Linked DNA regions of Homo sapiens: region 2 is linked to region 1. The links are contacts of gene promoters, found by promoter capture Hi-C in blood cells and fetal thymus (Javierre and others, 2016). All regions are on one chromosome and are shown on one strand. Each heading gives the region's core, a stretch centred on a gene start or on the middle of the fragment in contact. The rest is flanking DNA. Distances are from core to core; before and after follow the strand shown.

Region 1 (6,863 bases), core at 3,082-5,581:
GGCTGATTTTTTCTATTTTTTGTAGAGACAGAGTGTCACTGTGTTGCCTGGGCTGGTCTTGAACTCCTTGGCTCTAGCAGTCCTCCTGCCTCAGCCTTCCAAAGTGCTGGGATTACAAGCTTGAGTCACATGCCCAGCCTAAAATATTTTTTGTTTCATTGCTTTTCTTTTGACTTCATTTTACTTTTTTTTTTTTTTTTTTTTTAACCATGCAGCAAATTTTGTCCATCATTTCTTTTTTATGCCATATGAGGGGCTGGGCATGGTGGCTCAGCCTGTAACCCCAGCACATTAGGAGGCTGAGGTGGGTAGACTGCTTGAGCTTAGGAGTTTGAGACGAGCCTGGGCAATATGGCAAACCCTGTCTCTACAAAAAAATACAAAAATTAGCTGGGTGCAGTGGCATGCGCCTGTAGTCCCAGCCACTTGGGAGGTTGAGGTGGAAGGATGACTTGATCCCAGGAGGCAGAGGCTGCTGTGAGCCAAGTTCGTGCCTCTGTACTCTAGCCTGAGAGACAGAGGCAGACCCTGTCTCAAAAAAAAAAAAAAATGGCCATATGAAGCTGGACACAGTGGCTCATGCCTGTAATCCCAGTGCTTTGGGAGGTTGAGAAGGGTGGGTCGCTTGAGGCCAGGAGTTTGACACCAGCCTTGGCAACATAGGGAGACCCTGTCTCTACAAAATAAAAATTATCTTGGTGCAGTGGCATGCACCTGTAATGCCAACTACTTGGGAGACTAAGGCAGGAGGGTTGCTTGAGCCTAGGGGTTTGAGGCTACAGTGAGCTGTGGTTGCACTGCTGTACTCCGAGCTGGGTGACAGTGAGACCCTGTTTCTGAAAAATAATAAAAGCCATATGACATGGTTTGATGTCATATTTAAATATGCATACCTTGAGATTATAAAAAAATTTCTCATGTTTTCTTCTAGTACTGTTATGATTTCAGTTTTTGCATTTAAATTTTTGTTCCGTCTTATATTTATTTTGGTGCTAGCTATAAATAAAAGCAAAGAGTAAGTATATCCATGTCATGCATATGTTCAGTAACTTAGCTCTGTCTCTTCAAATCTCTTTTTGAAGTAGATCTGTAAATAAAACTCAGCTCTTCAGAAACAAATTTCTTCATGATACTTGAACTATTTAGTTTGTTATTATTGAGGATATTCTCATAAAGGCGGAGGAAAAATACTTTTCCCAAGCAAAATCCAAGTTAAATATGTTGAAGTAAATGAACCAAACACTGGATTGTTGAAAAATATTTAGTCATTTATTCACCTCAATTAATGTAACTTTAGGATACAGATTCTTCTGTGATTTTATTATCTTCTCACCCCATTTAGGTTGCGAGTTATAAGGACTCAGCATCATGTAGAAGCACTTGTGGAGCATCAGAATGGCAAGGTTGTGGTTTCGGCCTCCACTCGTGAGTGGGCTATTAAAAAGCACCTTTATAGTACCAGAAATGTGGTGGCTTGTGAGAGTATAGGACGAGTGCTGGCACAGAGATGCTTAGAGGCGGGAATCAACTTCATGGTCTACCAACCAACCCCGTGGGAGGCAGCCTCAGACTCGGTATTTTTGTTTTCATGTACTTATTGAAAAGGTATTGTGTTAATTCTTGGCATTAGATAACTTACATAATAATAACAGTTTTTACTTACCAAATACTTTCCATGTGTCAGACCCTTTGGTGAGTACTCAACAGTGTTACTTCATTTAATCCTCACATCAGTCCATAGGGTAGGGACTAGTACTCTCATTCTATACAGAAATAAACTGAGGCTTACTTGCCCAGAGTCAGTGTATGGTGGATTTCAAACCCAGGGTGACTGATTCTGTAGTCCATGATGTCAGCCACTGTATTTCCTGTTCATATATTGACATCTTGTCCATATAATATTTTGAAATGCTGCTGAACCTTGACATCTCTACATTTCCTTTTTACTTACATCATTATTAAGATCACTTTCTGAAAAACCGTTGTAGGCTGGGAAGTTAGCAAGAACAAATCAATTTATTTCTGTCTTTTGGAAGGTGAAAGTATTTTCAGCCTACTCGTGCTGCTGACTTAATCTTTTCCTTTTTTTTCTGATTTTCAAAACCAGATGAAACGACTACAAAGTGCCATGACAGAAGGTGGTGTGGTTCTACGGGAACCTCAGAGAATCTATGAATAAATGGAAGCATTAATTGTTTTGAACATGTAAATATAAATCTGTCAGCCACTACAGCCATCAAAAGAGAGCATCTGGAAGAACAGCCAGCTTGGAAGTTTTACAGCAATAATGTTGCAGTGGAATATTATTTGTAGTTAAGGTCATCCTCCTCCCCTTTCTGTTTTTTTAAATCAAGAACTACGTTCTGCCCCTCTCTTGGGCTTCAGAAGCATCTAAGAAAAGCAGTCATCAATTATAATTAACTTTCAAAGGGCAAGTCAGAAGTTGTTTATAAATTACAAAATAAAGGCATATTATGAACTCTTATTTTCTGGTTATATGACATTGTCTGAGCTCACTGTGGCAGTGGAGCACATATGAGGTTGATGTAAAGCACTTATTACTGTGTCTAGTTCATGGCGAGTGATCTCAGTGAATGACAGTTGTTTGCTGCTCGGAGTGTGGGTTGTTTTTTAAAATAGGAAATGTCAGTATCAATCTAATACTATAGAACAGTCAGTATGTGAAAATGAAAGGACCAAATGCCAACCTCACTTGGACTCTTGGTTCCCAACAGTAAGAGAAACAAATTTGAAAGAGGAAGGAGGTGGCATCAGGAGCTGAAAGCAGAGGTGGAAATGGTTGGGGTTAGTGGGCGCTCAATTTGCCATGAAGTGAACATTTTATTAGATAGGAGATGAAACTTGAAATGCATGCAAGTTAATCTAAAATTTGAGCTTGGGTAGATGGGAATCATGGCAGTTCTCTGAAAGGAGCTGATTAAGGTGTTAATTTTTGGCTATTTGATAAATGTGAGAAAAAACCTGTAGGCAGTTAAGGTGGCTTCTAGAGCATTGTTTTCCAGTTTTTTTAATGTATACCCCAATTAAATGTTTGTTTAGAAGTGAAATATGTTACTTCTGCCAATTTGAGTATTCAATGTGTTATTTTAAATGGAACACATCTGTATGAAGTATGATTTGTTCTGAGAGGTCTTCAGAATCAAATGGCTTAATAGTCCCCTTTTGCTTAATTAATGTCCCGGAGAGGCATTTAAAAGTATAATTGAAGATCGGATGCAGTGCCTCACACCTCTAATCCCACCACTTTAGGAGGCTGAAGCAGGTGGATCACTTGAGGCCAGGAATTCGAGACCAGCCTGGCCAATACGGTTTAACCCTATCTCTACTAAAAACAAAAATGAGTTGGGCGTGGTGGTGCATGCCTGTAATCCCAGCTGTTCAGAGGCTGAGGCGGGAGAATCGCTTGAACTCAGGAGGTGGAGATTGCAGAGAGCCGAGATGGCACCACTGCACTCCAGCCTGGGTGACAGAGTGAGACTGTCTCAAAAGGAAAAAATAAAGTATAACGGTAATGTTTTCTCCGCTAACCTTAAAGATTGATTTGAGCACCTCACTTTGAGGACCATAGTTCCAAAACGCTGTTCAAGTAGAAGCCTAGAATTCAAGGGAGGACACTGTAAGGAAGACCATGGACTAGTTGCACTGGAAACAGTAACAAAAGTAAAAATTAAGCTCACATGTATGTGATGATGTAGGTAGGGATTTCCGCAAGGAGTGAGTGCACGAGATAATCCCTGGGGACCAAGGATTCCTTCAATTTAATGGGCAGTTCTTGAGGCTTTGCAAAGTTTGATTGCAGGTGTGAAGACAGTGGTAAGGTGGACAGCAGAATGAGGAAAAAGATGTCCAGGGGCGTGGGAGAGGGAATGGGGACAGACATACTGGCAGTGATGGAGAAGTTGGGAAGAGGTGATTTAGAAGACCGTGAGCCGCAGCAAAGGATCTGCTTATTGCAGTTGCGTCCGGTGTTGTTCCTGCTCCGCTTTTCTGATTTCACCCTTTCTGGACTCTGTCTTCGTCTCCTGCCACGCCTCTTAACATTCTAAGTCCATGTAAATGACATTCTCACGTTAAGGGCTGCAAAGAAATTGCTGAGGAGCCAGGTAAACAGGCTTTGATTGCAATTGCAATCAAACCTCTGTAGCAAATCGTACAATTAAAACACCCGCAGGCAGGTGTGGGCGACGCCAGCAGCACACGGGGAAGCTGGGCACGTGGGGCGGAGGCAGCTGCCTGGTTTCCATGTGTGCGCCCTTTAAGACCCGGCGGCGCGACGGAAGCGCGTGGGCAGCACGTGGGCAGCACGTGATAGCGCTGGGCGACTCCGCGGAGCTGCACGGCCATGGACGTGGGCGCCGACGAGTTCGAGGAGAGCCTCCCTCTGCTGCAGGAGCTCGTCCAGGAGGCCGACTTCGTGGGTGAAGAGCCTGGGATTCGCGGCTGTGCCGGACAGAGCCCCTTGCCCCGGGCGAGCTTGAGGAGGGGGTGGCGGGACGGTTGCCAGGCCACAGGGCCTCAGAGAGGGCCTCGGGAAGGACAGGGGGGCTTCCTTCTCCAGCCCCGGGGCGGTGGGACTTTGAGCAGCAAGTACACTCCGAGCCCCACGTCCCTTGTTGGCCAGAGCCCCGTGCGCCCAGGTGCCTGGCTGCTCCTTGCCTTGGTTCCTCCATTTTCCCTTCCTGACCTCACTTGGCTTCTTGAGCGCAGAGGTGAGCGCGGGTGCCTTGGCCGCCTGCAGATCTACAGTGTGAGGAGTGCTGGCGATGTTCTGCACCCGAGGACTGCTATTTTTTGCCTTCCTGGCAGGTCTGGACATAGAGTTCACGGGCCTTCGTTCTAACCTGTCTGGGCCCCAGCAGATCAGGTAAAACTAAAGCTGTGTCCCCTCTGTATAAGAGCCTGGCCAGACCAGCACTGTTTCTGGCCAGCAGCCTGTTGGCATTTGGGGGGCAGGACGTTTTGTGTGGCTTGCTCCTACGTGTTGGAGGACCTTGCTTTTTTCTGTCCACTAAATGATGGTAGTGCTCCCTAGTTGTTGTAACAAGGAAAAAATCCTCCCCGGTTGCGAGTGGTGGTCCTGCCGCGGAGGCCATAGTGCCGGGATGGGATGTCATTGCTCGTGGAATGAGATGCCTGTTTGTTCACAGTCTTTTTGATTTGCCATCGGAGTGGTATCTAAAGACCCGTCAGAGTGTTCAGCAATTTACAGTCTGTCAGATTGGTGAGTTTAATATCAGCTGTTAGAGTTTTTCAAGAAGGTATTTTTATTGTCCTTGGATTTCCTACTGTAAAAACAGCTCTGAGATTTTTCAAGGATATTGAGTATCGTTTTGTATGCTTGTTTTGTGTTGGGCCATTGTATACATATGGAAATCAACACTTCGGAGCAAACCAAATTTAGCAGCATTGTTTCCGTGCTTAAATAAGTCAGTATTAAGGAACACTCACTGTTACTCTTTCAAGTAAAACTGTGTGTGTGCGATTTTTATTTTATTTTTTGAGACAGGGTCTTGCTCTGTCACCAAGACTGGAGTGCAGTAGCATAGTCTTAGCTCACTGCAGCCTAGACTTCCTGGGCTCAAGTGATACTAGCACGTCAGCCTCCTGAGTAAACTGGGACTACAGGCTCACCACCACACCTAGCTAATTTTTAAATTTTTTGTTCAGATGGGTTTTCGTCATGTTGGCCAGGCTGTTCTTGACTTCCTGGGCTCGAGCAATCTTTCTGCCTCTGCCTCTCAAAGTGATGGAATTATAAGCGTGAGCAACCACACCTGGCCTGTGATTTTTTTTTCTTAAGAAAATTTACACACAAAAATAATTTTTTTTAAGGTCATCTCAGTTTCAGAAACTTTTTTTTTTTCCTTGATGGGATTTGGAGATCTTTCTGTATCGGTTCATACAGATCTATTTGTTGATTTAGTTATTAGTTTATTTTCTGAGATGGAGTCTCGCTCTGTTGCCCAGGCTGGAGTGCAGTAGCGCGATGTGGGCTCACCGCAACCTCCACCACCCAGGTTCGGGTGATTCTCCTGCCTCAGCCTCCAGAGCAGCTGGGATTACAGGCAATTGCCACCAGGCCTGGCTAATTTTTGTATTTTTAGTAGCGATGGGGTTTCACCATGTTGGCCAGGCTGGTCAAGACAGAGCTGTTAACGGTTGCGTAATGCTGTTTCTTTTACAGCTACTCAATCCTGCTTTTGTAATGTGAAATTAGCTGTAGAGAATACATGAACAAATGAGCATGGCTCCATTCCAGTAAAATGTTATTGTATTTACAGAAACAGACCCTGGGCCAGATTTTACTTTTCTGGGTTTGTCTGTGCCCTCTCCCGCACCATTGGGTTTTTGCTGTGTTGCCCAGGCTGGGCTCAAACTTTTGGGCTCTGGAGATCCTCCAGTCTCAGCTTCTGAAGTAGCTGGGAGTGCTGCCACGCCCAGCCCCTGCTTTTACTATGAATGATGCTGAACGTGTGTGTGTTTTCCTCTCTATCCTGATCCTTTGCTACTTTTCTGTTATGGTTTTTTTTTTGTTCGTTTGTTTGTTTTTAATTATAAGACCTCTTTGAGAAGTATAGGAAACAGTTGTAGTTATGTTTCCATTGTTGTACCCAAATTTGTTTGGGGGGAAGGGGGACAGAGTCTTGCTCTGTTGCCCAGGCTGGAGTGCAGGGGCACGATCTTGGCTCCCTGCAACACCCTTGCCTCCCAGGCCCAAGCAATTCTCCTGCCTCAGCCTCCTGAGTAGCTGGGATTACAGGTGCGCGCCACCACACCTAGCTAATTTTTGTATTTTTAGTAGAGACAGGGTTTCACCATGTTGGTCAGGCTGGTCTCGAATT
Region 2 (6,863 bases), core at 1,705-4,204, 210 kb after region 1:
ATTCTAGTCTTTTGATCAGTTTATTCCTATGCCAACCCCCATCATGTTGATTTTTACATAGACTTTTTATTCTGGACTGTTACAGTAATGTCCTGGACAAGCAGAGATGTGGTCATTCTACTTGTGGGCCTTTCTAGAGAATGTTGATTTTGTAGCATATGTGATGGGAAGTATTGAAACATTTCAGTGGCTGAGTTATATATCCTGATTTGTATTTTTGAAGATCACACTGGTGCAAGATGGATGAGGAAGTGGGGCTGGCGAGGGATGAGACTAGTGTGGAGGCAGGGGGAGCAGTTAGGTGGCCATTGCTGGAGCGCAGGTAGTGGTTTTAGCGGGAGTAGAGGTGGAGAAATGTGGACAGATTTGAGATGGGCGTATAGCTGTGGACCTTTCTGATGTATAGAATGCAGCAGACAAGGTAAAGATGGCACTTAATGTAATGTAATGGGGATGCCACTCTGAGATGGAAAATTCTGGGAAAGGACAGTTTTATAAATTTATAAGCTATCAGATACATTATAATGCTACTTTTAATTTGCTTTTCCTTGGAAATAGCTGTTTGGTTATGTATGTTTTATAGCCTGTTCACTCTCTTTTCTCTCCAAATAGGTGACTCTGTTTTGAGAAGTGCAACCAGATCTCTCCTGGAATTCAACACAACAGTGAGCTGTGACCAGCAAGGCACAAATCACAGAGTCCAGAGCAGCATTGCCTTCCTGTGTGGGAAAACCCTGGTGAGTCCACACAGGCACTTGATGTATTTCTTTAAAAAAAAAAAGGTCTGCCCCTTGGTGTTCTGGCTGTAGAGGTATTCCAGGAAGAATCAGTGAGCAAACTTAGAAACACAAATAAGAAAAACCCTACCAAATGACCATCATCATCAAGAACCAATAAGTAAACAAATTCTAAACTTGTTACAACTTTTAAGTAAAACATAGACCATGTCTTTTGTAAAACTACAATTCAAAGTGATTACTGTGTTAAAAATCAGTGCACTGTTTAATGTTTAAGTTATAGGCATACTTTTTTTTTCTCTAAAACCTCTTCTTCTAGCATTTCATTTTGATAGGTTTTAGGGCAGCATATTTAGTTTTTTAAAAAATATTTTTCTTTCCTCATTTATATTAAATTAGAGATACCCACATCTATTTAGGAGAAGCCTTGGCCCGTGGGTATGGGGTTCTCAAGTTTTTTGGATATTACCTGGTGTTTAAAGGGGACATAATTGTGTAAATTATTATGATTGTTCTTATTATGGGCATATTGTATGTAATTTGTTGATTTTAATCTTTAGTTTTTGGAAAGGAACTTGCAGTAAATAATTGTTTTAGCTCTTGGGAGAAGGAATTGGTATACAAATTCTATGAATGTTCTTGAATCCCAGTAAGAACCCAATCTTTAGGAAAGTCAGGTTGAGTGAAACTCTGTGGCTACTAAATTGCTTTAAAATATCATTTTAGAATTTGGGACTGTGACTATTGCATCTTCAGGTCCACAGTGTCTTATCTGAAGAACTTTGAAAATAAAACTAATATTGTTAATTTTGGATCCGCATATAAATTGCATCGTTGTGCATATTGAGACCCAAAAAAGAATCTGTTCGCAGCAGCATTAAATGAGATTTATATTACAGAATAAAATATATAGCTCCTGTTTTAACTTCAGCTAATTTCCTTTATGAATTCTGTGTTCACCATACCAGAAATAGAACTGTGAAGGATAACTCCCTAGACTTGCACGTGGGAGTGAAGAGGCCAGTTCCTGCTGTGCTTGTGTCATCCTGCGATGCTGGGGTTGACCTGTTTGTAGTCCACTCTGGTTGCGGTTAACAGGAGGGGCTGCCTTGGAGGGTTGGCGTCTGGTGGGTGTACTAACTTGGTCAGATGCAGATGGGCTCCTCATGGGAGCCTTTTCACGGGAAGCATGAGGTCACGTTTTCTGGCTTTCGTTTGCTGGCATTTGCTTAAGAGAACATTTGGAGTTTGAGAGGAGAATGACTGAGGATTTCTTCCCATGAACTCACTCAATGTACTTGCACAGCTGGGGCGGTAGAATTCCTTTGGATTAGTTACACAAAATCCCAACATGATTTTATGAAGCTTTGGTCTCAGAATTTGCAGATTTGGGAACCTCTTGATGACCCCGTTTAACTAAAGCGGTTGCATCCCCTGCCCTTCTTGCTGCTGCTTTCTTTATTTTAGTAGCCTTTACTGCATTCTCATTTTAAAGAAGAATCTTTACAATGTGTGGTATGGTAACATTATAATTACTATTTTTTTTTAATAGGGAACTCCTGAATTTGTAACTGCAACAGAATGTGTGCACTACTTTGAGTGGAGGACCACTGCAGCCTGCAAGAAAGACATATTTAAAGCAAATAAGGAGGTAACATGGGAACTTCAAATTACATGCTTATGAAGTATACTCTGGGGAACTTTATCTTTCAAATACTGATTCTAACCTTTCCGGGTGAAAATCTTTTTTAGCTTCCAAATTGCATTTGAGCAGAGATACCATGTGATTTAATTTTTAAAACTTTTCTGAGTGGTTCTTATTTTTAGGACAGGGCATTTAAAATATCACAGGATGTGATTTTTGGTCCAGATTGGAAATAGAATGGCTCATCCATATAGGGCAAGTTAGTTCTTGGTTTCTGGTGCTGTGCAACTCAGTAAACTAAGTGACGTGTTTGGGCTTGGGCTTAGAGTATTCACTCTACCTGCAGGAGCCATCTGTTTCTGACGCTGCCTGCTTCATCTTCCTTTGCACCTGGCTTTCCACCTGTGTTGTACCCCGCTTTTGATAAGTCTCCTTTACCTGTTTGCATTGTTAAATCTCTCTGTCCCTCTCCTCAGCCTTGGGATGACTTCTGGCTGCAATGTGAGTCCAGGTCAGGTATCCCTTAAATTCTTTTCCAGCTCACCTCAGAGACTAGATTACTAGGTTACTGTTACTATTACGTCCACCCCTTATTATTTGAACCCAGCATTCCTTGGTCAAGACATTCTTCTTGGGTGCATGTATGTATATATATCTATATACATACACACTGACCTATATGTATTATGTGCAACATGATATTTTGAAATATGTATACATTGAGGAATGGCTACATTGAGCTAATTACATATGTGTTACCTCACATATTTCGTTTTTTTTTTTTTTTTTGTGAGGACTCTTAAAATCTACTCTCTTAGTGATACGCAAGAATAAATTACATTGTTATTAACTGTGGTTGTGGTGGTGTTTAATGGATCTCTTGGGCAGGTCATTCTTGTTGACTAATGGAATGTCCCCTTCCCCAGCCTGGATTCCCTCATGTTGCACTGCTACTTGATTCTCCCTGGTCCTGGGGAAGAGCAGACTGTGTTCCTTCTGCCGCTTCTCCATGCCCACCACCCCAGATCCTAAAGGGAATTTCCTGTTCTCACCTTGATAACAATCTTAATTAATTGATTATCTCACTTTTCTCTCCTACTTTCTGTTTTTAAGAACTTTCAAAGGTTGTAAGGATTCAGGAACTAATGAATGGTCATAATCAGTAATTTTTACTAGTGGCCTAATACCATGCAGTTTAATAAGACAAAAAGAAATGTTTATTTAAAAACATTAATTCAGATTAAATTATGAACAATAAATCACTGATATTTTCAGATATGGTCATCTATGAAGGGAAAGACAGTGTCATATGGAAGTGGAAGTGGTAAAATACTGCCCAGGAAAGCCATAAGGAGCATTCAATGAAAAAAAAAAAGTTTAAAGTGGAAAGAATTAAGGCTGATATTTAGGAGACAGTGTCAAATGTAAGCTTCATTTAAAAACTTAGGTGAAGCTGTTAGATGACATACTGTTAGCGGTGGGAAAAGCATCTCAAAGCAGACATCTGTTTGGGGTTTGGGGGTGAGGGTGGGAGCACAGTGTGTTCATTCTCGCAGTGCTATAAAGAAACACCTGAGACTGGGTAATTTATAAAGAAAAGAGGTATAATTAGCTCACAGTTCCGCAGGTTGTAAAGGAAGAATGGCAGCATCTGCATCTGGAGAAGCCTCAGGAAACTTACAGTCATGGCAGAAGGCAACAGAGTATCGAGCACCTCACGTGGCCAGAGCCTGAGGAAGAGAGTGGGAGGGGGAGGTGCCGCCCACTTTGAAATGACCAGATCTCACAAGAACTCACTCACTATCATGATAATAGCAAGAAGGGGGTGATGGAATCTGCCCTCATGATCCAGTCACCTCCCCAGGCCCCGCCTCCAATGTTGAGGATTACAATTTGACACAAGATTTGAGTGGGGACACACAGTCATCCTGGGATTACAGGCATGAGCCACCATGCCCGGCTAATTTATATATATATATATATATTTTTTTTTTTTTTTGTTTGTTTGTTTGTTTATTTGTTTGTTTTGTAGAGACGGGGTTTCTCTATGTTGGCCAGGCTGGCCTTGAACTCCTGACCTCAGGTGATCCGCCTGCCTCGGCCTCCCAAAGTGCTGGGATTACAGGAGTGAGCCCCTGCGCCTGGCCCCACACACAGTCATCCTCAAGTGTCCAGTTGGCCGGATCTGAGTTGCTTCCTGTGGGAGGTGGAGGCTGCGGTGACAGTGGTGCCCTCTGCTCTCCTGTTAGACCCCAGACCTCTCAGTCCCACAGATACTCTCCTGGGCTCTGATTTTCCAACCTGATCATGATACCCTTTTTGTTTTGTTTTGTTTTTGTTTTATCTGAGTGTACCTCTTATGTCACGTTGCTGAATTGACAGTTGTGTCTTCTACCACCTAGGAAAAAATTGCTTTCCAAAATAAAATGAATAGCAACTTGTTTTCAATGGGTCAGAAATCACCAACTACAGCCCATGGTTCAAAGCCTGCCCTGGCCTGTTTTTGTACAACCCCAGGACTAAGAATGGTTTTCACATTTTTACAGGATTGTTACAAAACAAAGAGGAATATGCCACAGAGACCTATGTGACCTGCAAAACCCAAAATGTAGATACCACATGGTTCTTTGTAAAAAAAAAAAAAAAAAAAAAAAGGTGCTGATCTGTGTTCTAAATAGTTTTTGGGGTGGGAATGGGGAGGTATAGTCTGTGTTTTTCTCAAAACAATGACATTTAATTTCTCTTAGAAGCAGATTGAAGATGCATGAGAAACATTTGTACTTTGTACTCTCTTACCTCTTCAGGTGTAATTGGCAGCTGGGGCTTTATTCATTGAGTTTTCATTTATTGAGAGCCTATTGTGAGCTAAGCAGTAGGAATTTTGTTAAATTTTGGAATGCTTTCAGGGAGCCTATAGACTAATGGTGTGAAGGACATATCCATATTCATTAACTCATTTTTTTTTGTCTTATGGATAGATTAAATGGAAAGAACTGAAAAGCATAATGACTGCTAAAAATGTAGTGCTGTCACTGTTAGCAAATCTTAATAAAGCGTATGCCCTTTTTTCTGCTTTCAGTTTGATTTGATTACACCTTACAGGCTTGGTATGATAAGTTTAAAACATATTGAAGGTTTATGTACTTATAAAAACCTCATCATTCCCTAAAGAAAAAAAATCTCAATTTGGTTTAGTGTCATTGTAGTCTTGCTTTCTACATCTTACTAATGTCTCATTTATTTATTCATTTTGCTCTGTCACATTTAGAATGATTTTGATGGGCAAAAATCATGGTAGTTACAAACAGCCCTTTAAAACTATTGTTATACTTTGTTCAGTGGATTCTGGTAGAGGCTTTAAGGTAATTATTTCTTTAAAGCATTGTGTAAATATACCTCCTACTGTAGTGCCCTTGGGAACAGGCAAAATTCAGAACTGGCCTGCTAGCAGTCTTACCAGGGTTATAAAAGTAAGATTATTATATATAAAACAGCATTAACTCAATGCGTGGTGTGTTGCAGCTGGCAAACAACCTCGCTCCCCAGGCTGCTAAATTCGTGGTCTTATGAATGTCTCCATTGCTGTGTTTGCTGTAGCAGGAAGTGGGAGGGTGTTCCCCAGTAGCCTTGACTGTTTACCAATGCACACTCCAGTTCTGTGGAGTGCTGTGTGAGGCATGTCTTCTCTTCCCTCCTGGAGTAGGGAGACAGCCAGTAGTTGCTACCTGCCCCGAGCAGGGTGCTTGCAGATCTTGCCTATGTGGAATCCTCTAAGTGTCTTGGTGAAATGCAGCTGTTTTCAGAATGAAGAGTTCTTTCATTTTCCCTTCTTGCCATATGCCATCTTGCTCCCTTTTCCATCATAGGCTTTTATTTTGCTGGTTAGAGAATTGCATCTTGTCTTGCATCCTACCCAGTCCACTGACTCACTCCCCTCTTGGGTTAATGTTTTCATATGATCTTGCTGTGGGATGACAAGCTTTAGATTTGCAGGATAATGGGCACTTGTGGCTTTTTACTGTAACCCAATTATAGTCTGTGGCAATAATTTTCTTTTAGTTGCCTTTCTGCATGAATCTGGTGGTAGGCTTAAGCTCCATGTGCTGGTACCCTCTGAGCACTAGAGGTTCTAACTTCCTCCATTATTAGTAGAAACACTTAGGTGTCTGAGAAGTATTTTAGGCGACAGGCAACTTTGCTTTGAGGATATGGTCAAAATGAGTTCAAGTGCCTTTGAGGCTGTGAGTAGGTGTAGGTCGTTTGATTCACTCTATTAGCTCTCCATGAATCTCTGACAGCAGGACTGGGGAAAAAGGTTAGTGGGTTAGAGCATTCCTGCAGATTTGATAGCCTATTTCTAAGAGAAATTTGAAAGCTAAATATTAAGCAGTTAACTTTTGTAAATAGACCTGTCTGTGAATTGCTTCAGTCTAAAAGATAAAATTTTGGGAAACTTATCCACAGAAAATAATAAAACTATC

The links. The method cuts DNA at HindIII sites, captures the fragments that hold promoters and counts their contacts. A CHiCAGO score of 5 or more calls a contact.
Region 2: a contact is called between a fragment that was not itself captured here and the fragment with the promoter of PNLDC1 in region 1, in 1 of 17 cell types (neutrophils). The highest score is 5.3, in neutrophils.

What each region holds. Positions count from the first base shown.
Region 1 is chr6:159,795,945-159,802,807 of GRCh38, forward strand. PNLDC1 (PARN like ribonuclease domain containing exonuclease 1) reads left to right here and starts at 4,332. Exons shown (of 19, transcript NM_001271862.2): 1 at 4,332-4,439; 2 at 4,828-4,885; 3 at 5,169-5,242. The coding sequence starts at 4,364. It overlaps MRPL18 (mitochondrial ribosomal protein L18), which reads left to right. Exons shown (of 4, transcript NM_014161.5): 3 at 1,343-1,574; 4 at 2,108-2,485. The coding sequence ends at 2,179. The HindIII fragment of the contact is 10,328 bases long and covers 118-6,863 here.
Region 2 is chr6:160,008,398-160,015,260 of GRCh38, forward strand. It overlaps IGF2R (insulin like growth factor 2 receptor), which reads left to right. Exons shown (of 48, transcript NM_000876.4): 3 at 613-737; 4 at 2,290-2,388. Among named protein-coding and RNA genes, the nearest start is that of AIRN, 4.2 kb to the left of the region's middle. The HindIII fragment of the contact is 1,709 bases long and covers 2,101-3,809 here.